2 separate regions of the Homo sapiens genome follow, and region 2 is linked to region 1. Evidence: promoter capture Hi-C in human tissues and cell types (Jung and others, 2019). All regions are on one chromosome and are shown on one strand. The core of a region is centred on a gene start or on the middle of the fragment in contact, and the rest is flanking DNA. Distances in the headings are between cores, read along the strand shown. Region 1 holds the start of HAX1 (HCLS1 associated protein X-1). Region 2 overlaps GATAD2B (GATA zinc finger domain containing 2B).

Region 1 (4,334 bases), core at 714-3,213:
ATTCCAACCCAAGGCTATCAGATTCAAACAAGAATTGCAATCTTTGGCCAGGCATGATGGCTCACACTTGTAATTCCAGCACTTTGGGAGGCCGAGGTGGGTGGATCACCTGAGGTCAGGAGCTCAAAAGCAGCCTGGCCAACACGGTGAAACGCCATCTCTACTAAAAACACAAAAATTAGCTGGGCGTTTGGCAGGCGACTGTAATCCCAGCTACTCAGGAGGCTGAGGCAGGAGAATCACTTGAACCTGGGAATTGGAGGTTGCAGTGAGCTGAGATTGTGCCACGGCACTACAGCCTGGGCAACAGAGCAAGGCTGGGTCTCAAACAATTTTTGAGATGGAGTCTCCACCTCCTGGGTTCAACCAATTCTCCTGCCTCAGCCTCCTGAGTAGCTGGCATTACAGGCACCTGCCACCATGCCCGGCTAATTTTTTGTATTTTTAGTAGACACGGGGTTTCACCATGTTGACCAGGCTGGTCTCCAACTCCTGACCTCTGGTGATCTGCCCACCTCGGCCTCCCAAAGTGCTGGGATTACAGGCGTGAGCCACCGCACCTAGCCAGTCTTTGCACTTTATTAGTGGTCTCTCACAAGCTCTCACTTCAGGACCAGATGGGATACTCACCCTATGAAATGGCCTCTGGGAGCCCCAGTCTGGTGCTGGTTGGGGGGATTCACTTCTTGCATCACTCTCCAAGACCCCCCCAAAGATCCTGGGCTGGTGACTATCTGGATACTTAAGCATTGAGTCCCGAAGTGTCTGTCCCTCCCGTAGTCTCTCACCAGGTGTCTCTGACTCAGGACCTGGAAGTTCTGCAGAAAGGTGGCAGGTGTTTGCTGGGATGGGAAAGGACTTGGGCTCTATTAATCTCTCTGAAATCATCAGTCTTCTCACACTTCCCATCCCCCAGCTACTCCCTGCAGGCTCTTTATTTCACCCACCAACCCACCAGAAACCACAGGTTGCCCCTTAGGGAAAGCCACACACCAGGAGGATGGGAAGGCAAGGTCCAGGCCCCCATATCGCTGAAGATGCTATTGAAATCTCGTACTAGGTCATCAAAGCCGAAGTTATCGTGGAAACGTATCCCTCCTCCTGGGCTGAAGCTGAAGCCGAAGCCAAATTCCTCAGGGGGGTGCTGAGGACTATGGAACCTTGGGTTCCCACGGCCCCATGAGCCCCCTTCTTCTTCTTCTTCCTCATCATCATCTTCATCTCGAGTCATCCCTCCAAAAAAGGGATCTCTGTGGCTGAGAGTGGAGGCAGATTGGCCACCAATATTTCAGCACTATTTAAGCCATTAAATCAACTCATGGGTGGCAAAGTGGGACAAGAGCAAGGGGTCTGGGAAGCTAGGGAGAGGGTCGGAGGACTGGCTGCCACATCAAAACATTAATACAATGGCTGACAGTTCTTTTTTTTTTTTTTTTTTTTTAATCAAAGTCAGACCTCAGCTCGCAGCTCCCTTCATACACCTTCCCCCAGTTTTTCTTCAGTGTGCCCCAGTCCCTCCTCTCTCTCCCAAGGTCCTGCTCACTTGCTCACTGTCTTATTCCCCAGACCCTCACGGTCTTCCCCGCCCGGGTCCCTGTTGCATCACCCCAGGTTGGAGAAAGGCTTAGTTTGCTGTTTCTCCTCTTAATGACCGCCTTGGTTACTGTGGCGGGGTGAGTGTTCAATGTTGCGACTTCTGTCCTCTCTGCAGGAGTTGAAGGAGTGGGACAGAGGATGTTTTTCCAAAAATAAGACGTAGGGGTCAAGCTCCCCTCAGACGACCCCCACCCTTGTCCGAGCCGGACCTACTCTCACCTCCGAGGTCCAGGAAAGCCGAAAAAGCCCCGGAAGAGATCAAAGAGGCTCATTCCCGTACTGGGACGCGAACCTTTGAACCCCTCCAGTGGTCCATTCGCAGACGGGGGAAACCTGCGCAGCCCTGTGAGAAATTGAGCGAGGCGTCAGCCCACGCTACCGGAAAGCAAGCCCGCGATCCTGACACTGTCGTAAACGACGGTAAGCCGGACGTGAAATGGAGGCGGGACCGAAGGTCTTCCTCAAATTTGAAAGGCTTTATCTTTACCCCACCTTTCAGAGACCAGTTTCCGTGACGGGAGTGGGCGTGACGCACTTTCAGTTTCCTATGACCGCCTTCCTCCTAAATCTGTTCTTCTTTCTGCAGACCAACTCAGTACGAAAAGCGATTTCGAGGGTTTGACTCTGGATGGCACCCGGATAAAGCCGCCAGAGGGCAGCCCAGCCGCACAAATGGACCGGCTTGAGGGCGTCCCTCAACCACCCCACCCGCGGGGCTGGCCAGCCTCACAGCAGAAGCCACCTCGCTCCTTACTCGGGCGTTCTTTTTGACTGACCTGGGCGATGTCTGCTGTTAGAGGGATGAACAAAATGCTTTTCCAAGCTCCTTCTAGTATTGAATTTCCCAGAGAAGAGATCAAGACATAAGAGACGCATGGACTTAACTTCCTCCACCTCTCTAGCTACTAGGGAGTTTGTTATAACTATATAGAATTCTTTTTTCTAAGCAGGCTCTGCAACCAGCAAGACAAAGGATTTTTAAGAAAGCAAGGGAAGGGAAGCTAGTTGAGTCCTGAGAAGGAACAAATTGGGGGTTATAAAGAAATATCCCTTTGGTATCTTTTTTTTTTTTTTTTTTTTTTTTTTTTTGAGACAGAGTTTTCTCTCATGTTTCCCAGGCTGGAGTGCAGTGGCACCATGTCGGCTCACTGCAACCTTCGCCTCCCAGGTTCTCTCCTGTCTCAGCCTCCCGAGTAGCTGGGATTACAGTCATGCGCCTCCACGCCCGGCTACTTTTGTATTTTTTGTAGAAACGGGGTTTCACCATGTTGACCAGGCTGGTCTCGAACTCCTGACCTAAGGTGATCCGCCCAACCCAGCCTCCCAAAGCGCCTGTCCTCATTCCTTTTTAAAAGTGTTTTGTTCAAAACCTCTCCGAGACCTGTCTCTCCCTGTACCCCATCCCCAAGCCAGACCTTGCTCTAGATTCTTTTTCAAAGAATTGGGTATAGCTATGTCACAGAGAAGCATCCAAGAAGCCACTACTACAGTAGTCCATTCCTAGGGGGAATGGGCCCCAAGGTTTTGTTTTTTTATTTCGTTTTTGGGGTACAGGTGGTGTTTGGTTACATGGATGAGTTCTTTAGTGATTTCTGCGACTTTAGCGCACCCATCACCCGAGCAGTGTACACTGTACCCAATATGTAGTCTTTCATCCCTCACCCCACTCCAAGATTTAGTTCTGCCAGACGATACATGTTGCCTTCACTTCTTTTTAGTTTATTTGCCTGGACCCATCTAAGTCATACTTAAAACTCTATAAAGCATTTTTTTTCTTTGAAATGGTCTCAGCTCCTTCTTGATCCTCTCCATTTTCCACCCAATCTCCTCTATCCCTCTCCCTTTACTGCCTGAAATCGGCTGTAGATGTAGCAGTTTCTGGAGGAAATGAAGATTTGTGGTGGTTCTTTCCAGTCACCAGGTTGTGAAAGTCTTAGGGGTGAGGGGAAGGAAATCCCCTCAAGGACAAGATACTACTACCACATTAAGGTCAGGAGTTCTTAAAGGGCGAAGATTTCATTTTATTCCACTGCCTTCAGGGGCCTGCTAGAGGAGGCCCAGTTGGTACAGTAATACTTATTCACCAAGCTGGTCATCGACGAAATTGAGGATGTCCTAGACGGAGCAAGAATAGGCAGAGGCTGAAGGTAGAGGTTTTCTTTTTATATATACAAGACACATTAATCCATTAAATTTGAGGACACAGTACAAAAAAAAAAAAAAAACAAAAAAAAAACCACTTCAACTAATTCATCTGACAATGCTGTTCATATTCATGACGCCATTTTTTTGTTTGTTGTTGTTGTTGTTTTCCTAATAATAAAGAAGGAGACTTAGGGCTGTTGGGCTGATATATGTTTGGGGGTCCCACCTCCCCGCCTCATCCGTACACCACCAGGGTGAACAGGAGGAAGCAAAGGAAGTGCAGGGCCCATAGCAAAGTTTCATAATCTTGAATGCAAGAGGGGAGAAGGAATGGAAGGGGGAAAAAAAAGGAGAAAATACAAATCCTATAATACATACAACAGGGTGGGGATGGTATAGGAATGGGACAGACATGAAGCTGAGGCATGGGGTGGGCCGCTGGGGGTGGGGGGCAGCGGAAACCCCCCACATTCCTTTCTCTTTGATGCTGTTTCCATAGTTTCCAGGCTGAGAAGCCCTCTCAGAAGATGGGACCGGGAGAAGAGGGTCAGGGCCTCAGTTGGCCCCCCAGCTGTAGCTGTTGTAGGCAGACT
Region 2 (4,334 bases), core at 836-3,335, 400 kb after region 1:
TTATTAGAGACAGGGTCTCACTCTGTTGCCCAGGCTGGAGTGCAGTAGTGTGATCATAGCACACTGCAGCCTTGAACTCCTGGGCTCAAGTGATCCTTTTGCCCCAGCCTCCCAAGTAGCTAGGACTGACTATAGGCATGTCACCATGCCTGGCTAATTTCATTATTATTATTTTTGGTAGAGACAGAGGCTCACTGTTTTTCCCAGGCTGGTCTCAAACTCCTGGCCTTAAGCAGTCCTTCTGCCTTAGCCCCCCAAAGTGCTGGGATTATAGGCATGGGCCAATGCAAAGAACCTTTCACTCTAATACTGCCTGTTCTTCTTTTCTTTTTTGAGGCGGAGTCTCGCCTTTCACCCAGGCTGGAGTGAAGTGGCACGATCTTGGCTCACTGTAACCTCCACCCGCCGCCCTCCCCTCACCAGGTTCGAGTGATTCTCCTGCCTCAGCCTCCCGAGTAGCTGAAATTACAGGCGCCTGCCACCATGCCCAGCTAATTTTTGTATTTTTAGTAGAGACGGGGTTTCACCATGTTGGCCAGGCTGGTCTCAAACTCCTGTCCTCAGGTGATCTGCCCGCCTTGGCCTCCCAAAGTATTGGGATTATAGGCATGAGCCACCGCCCTGACCTCTCATATCACCTTTTCTAAATGATTGTCTGGCACATTTGCTTTCGTGTATGTCAGAACTTCTGTGCTGATTTGTAAGGTGACAGTAGGAGAAAGCTGTTTACCTCCTGTTCATTACCTCTAGGCAGCACACTCTAACTTGTCACATTTAAGCATAGCGACCTTTACAATCCTTGGTGCATATTACTGAGCAGTATGTTACCCACTGCAAGGTCATCTAGGCTCTTTCTTTCAAGAATGTGAGCCAAAGGTTTGTGTAGTAAACTCAGTGATACAGAAAAGACACTGTAAGAGCATGTAAACAGTAATAGTCTTTCATAAGAATTACTCTCTTACCAGTCTGGTTGGATCGGAAACCAAAAATGACAATATAGATAGCATAGTACGATGGTTAAGGACATTGACTCAGGTAAGACAGTCCTGTGTTTTAACCACGCCCAGCCATTTAAGGACTGTGAAATCTTTTTTTTTTTTTTTTTTTTTTTTTTTTTTTTTGAGACGAAGTCTCACTGTGTTGCCCAGGCTGGAGTGTAGTGGCGCGATCTCAGCTCACTGCAGTCTCCGCCTCCCGGGTTCAAGCGATTCTCCTGCCTCAGCCTACTGAGTAGCTGGGACTACAGGCATGCGCCACCACACCCAGCTAATTTTTGTATTTTTTAGTAGAGGCGGGGTTTCACCATATTGGCCACGCTGATCTGGAACTCCTGACCTCATGATCCGCCTGCTTTGGCCTCTCAAAGTGCTGGGATTACAGGCATGAGCCACTGTGCCTGGCCTGGACTGTGAAATCGTATGAAGTTACTCAGTTTATCTGTTTTTCTTTTCTCTCTAACAGGAGGATAATTATATCTCCAGAGGTTCTAAATGAGATAATGCATTGTGAAGCACTTTAGCGCAATGCCTAGCACATAGTAAGAGCTCAGTGAATGTTAGCAAGATAGATATTCCTGTCTGTTGGGTTTGTTTATACTATTTTCATTGTTCTTACTAGTTTATTTTAGCCAGCTTGTGGCTACCTTTTTTTTTTTTTTTTTTTTTTCCCTCCAAACTCGTGGTAGGTCTATTGACCTGTATCAAGATCAGGAGTCAGCAAACTATAGCTGCTGCTTGTTTTGGTAAATGAAATTTTGTTGAAACACAGCCACACCCACTTGCTTACAAAAGCAGAGTTTAGTACTTGCCCCACAAAGTCTAAAATGTTATTATCTGGTCCTTTACAGAAGAAGTTTGTAAGAACCGCATGGTATAGATCAAGCTTGTCTAACCTGCAACTCTTGGGCTGCATGCGGCCCAGGACAGCTTTGAATGCAGCTCAATACAAATTCAGAAACTTTCTTAAAACATGAGATTTTTTTTTTCTTCCAGCTCATCAGCTATCTTTAGTGTTAGTGTATTTTATGTGTGGCCCAAGACAGTTCTTCCATTGTGGCCCAGGGAAGCCAAAAGGTTGGATGCCCCTGGTCTAATCAAGAGTCTTTTTTTCCTAGAAAAGTGACCTATGAAGCAAGTTCTAGAAATCAGAAGAGAAATAATGAGACTAAATTTGGCTGGGCGTGGTGGCTTACACCTGTAATTCCAGCACTTTGGGAGGCCTAGGCAAGAGGATCACTTGAGCCCAGGAGCTTGAGACCAGCCTGGTCAACACAACAAGACCCCATCTTTGCTTACAAGAAAAAATGCTGGGCATGGTGGCATGTCCCTGTAGTCCCAGTTAGTTGGGAGGCTGAGGTGGGAAGATTGATTGAGCCTGGGAGTTTGAGGCTGCAGTGAACCATGAGCTGTGATGGAGCCACTGTGCTCCAGCCTGGGTGACAGAACAAGACCCTGTTTCAAAAATAAATAAATAGGCTGGATGTGGTGGCTCACACCTGTAATCTCAGCACTTTGGGGGGCCAAGGCGAGTGGATCACCTGATGTCTGGAGTTCAAGACCAGTCTGAGCAATATGATGAAACCCTGTCTCTACTAAAAATACAAAAATTAGCTGGGCATGATGGCATGCACCTGTAGTCCCAGCTACTTGGGAGACTGAGACAGGAGAATTGCTTGAACCTGGGAGGTGGAGGTTGCAGTAAGCCGAGATCGCGCCACTGCACTCCAGCCTGGGTGACAGAGGGAAACTCCGTCTCAAAAACAAAAACAACAAAAAAACCCCAAAAATAGATAAATAAAAATTTAAAAATAGACTAGACTTACATGGACTAGAAGGAATTAATCATTTCAGATTTTTAGGAATAGGATTTTGAAGAAGGGAGGGTCTATTGACATGGCTAATAAGCATTAGGTGAAGGAAAGTACCGTTTGAAGTTGGTTAGGCAGTAACAGCACTTATTTTTAATCTCTTAGGGGCACTTCATAGTAGTGTGTTGTCTTAGTCCATTTTCTGTTGCTATAACCTGAGACTGGGTAATTTATAAAGAAAATAAATAAATTTCTTTCCCTCTCTCTTTTTTTTTTCTTTTGAGACGGAGTGTTGCTCTGTCTCCCAGGCTGGAGTGCAGTGGCACTATCTCAGCTCATTGCAACCTCTGCCTCCTGGGTTCAAGCGATTCTCCTGCCTCAGCCTCCCAAGTAGCTGGGACTACAGGCACACGCCACCACACCCAGCTAATTTTTGTATTTTTAGTAGAGATGGGATTTCACCATGTTGGCCAGGATGGTCTCAGACGATCTCTTGACCTCATGATCCACCCTCCTCGGCCTCCCAAAGTGCTGAGATTATAGGCATGAGCCACCGCACCCGGTCCCCTCCCTACCTTTCTTTCTTTCCTCTTTCCTTTTTATTTATTCTCTGTCACCCAGGCTGGAGTGCAGTTGTGCAGTCATAGCTTATTGTAGCCTTGAACTCCTAGGCTCAAGCAGTCCTCCTGCCTCAGCCTCTCAAGTAGCTAGGACTACAGGCATGTGCCTTTGCACCCAGCTAAATTGCTTTAAAAATGTTTTGTAGAGATGGGGTCTCACTATGTTGCCTAGGCTGGAGTGGAGCTCCTGTACTCAAGCAATATATCCACCTTGGCCTCTCAAAAGTGCTGGGATTACAGGCATGAGCCACCATGACCAGCCCCAAGAAATTTATTTCTCACGGCTCTGGAGGCTGGAAAGTCCAGGGTCAAGGGGCCATATCTGCTGAGGGCCTTCTTGCTGGTGGGGACCTTGCAGAGTTCCAGAGTGGCACAGGGCATCACATGGTGAGGGGACTAACGAGAGACAGCCACATTGGCTTTTATTACAGACCCACTCTTGTGCTAACTAGCCCCTTCTCTGAATAACCCATTAATCTGAGAATGGCTCAAGCACTTCCTAAAGGTCTCGCCTCTTAACACGCCTGCATTGGGCACCAAGTATCCAACAGATGAACTTCTGGGGGACACATTCAAATCGTTGCGGGGTATTAAAGCGAAGTACAAAGAAGAGAGATTTGCTGTCAAGTAGTTTGCATTAAACTTGGAAATAAATATGAATTGGTAGGTTACCTATTAAACAAGTGTGTTAGAGTAGCCTAGCAGTTTTCAAAGTGTAGTCTGTGGAATCCTAGAGAATAGACTCCTTTCATGGAGTCTGTGAGATCAGAATAGTTTCATAATAATACTAAGTCATCATTTGCCTTCTTCCCTGTGTTAACATTTGCAGTGATATCCAAAAGCAATGCTGATTAAAACGTTAGGGTAACCCTGAGCAATAGCACCAAACTAGTAGCAGGCATTGTGTT

The links. Contacts are between HindIII fragments. The study calls those that stand out against the background at their distance.
Region 2: a fragment that was not itself captured here is called in contact with the fragment with the promoter of HAX1 in region 1 in 1 of the 25 tissues and cell types used here (liver).

Annotation. Positions count from the first base shown.
Region 1 is chr1:154,270,258-154,274,591 of GRCh38, reverse strand. It overlaps HAX1 (HCLS1 associated protein X-1), which reads right to left and starts at 1,963. Exons shown (of 7, transcript NM_006118.4): 1 at 1,816-1,963; 2 at 994-1,256; 3 at 631-818. The coding sequence starts at 1,868. UBAP2L (ubiquitin associated protein 2 like) reads right to left here. Exons shown (of 27, transcript NM_014847.4): 27 at 3,745-4,334. The coding sequence ends at 4,297. RefSeq lists an enhancer at 1,900-2,069 and a silencer at 2,207-2,347. The HindIII fragment of the contact is 12,660 bases long and covers 1-4,334 here.
Region 2 is chr1:153,873,015-153,877,348 of GRCh38, reverse strand. The region is part of intron 1 of GATAD2B (GATA zinc finger domain containing 2B); the gene reads left to right. Among named protein-coding and RNA genes, the nearest start is that of GATAD2B, 48 kb to the left of the region's middle. The HindIII fragment of the contact is 8,682 bases long and covers 1-4,334 here.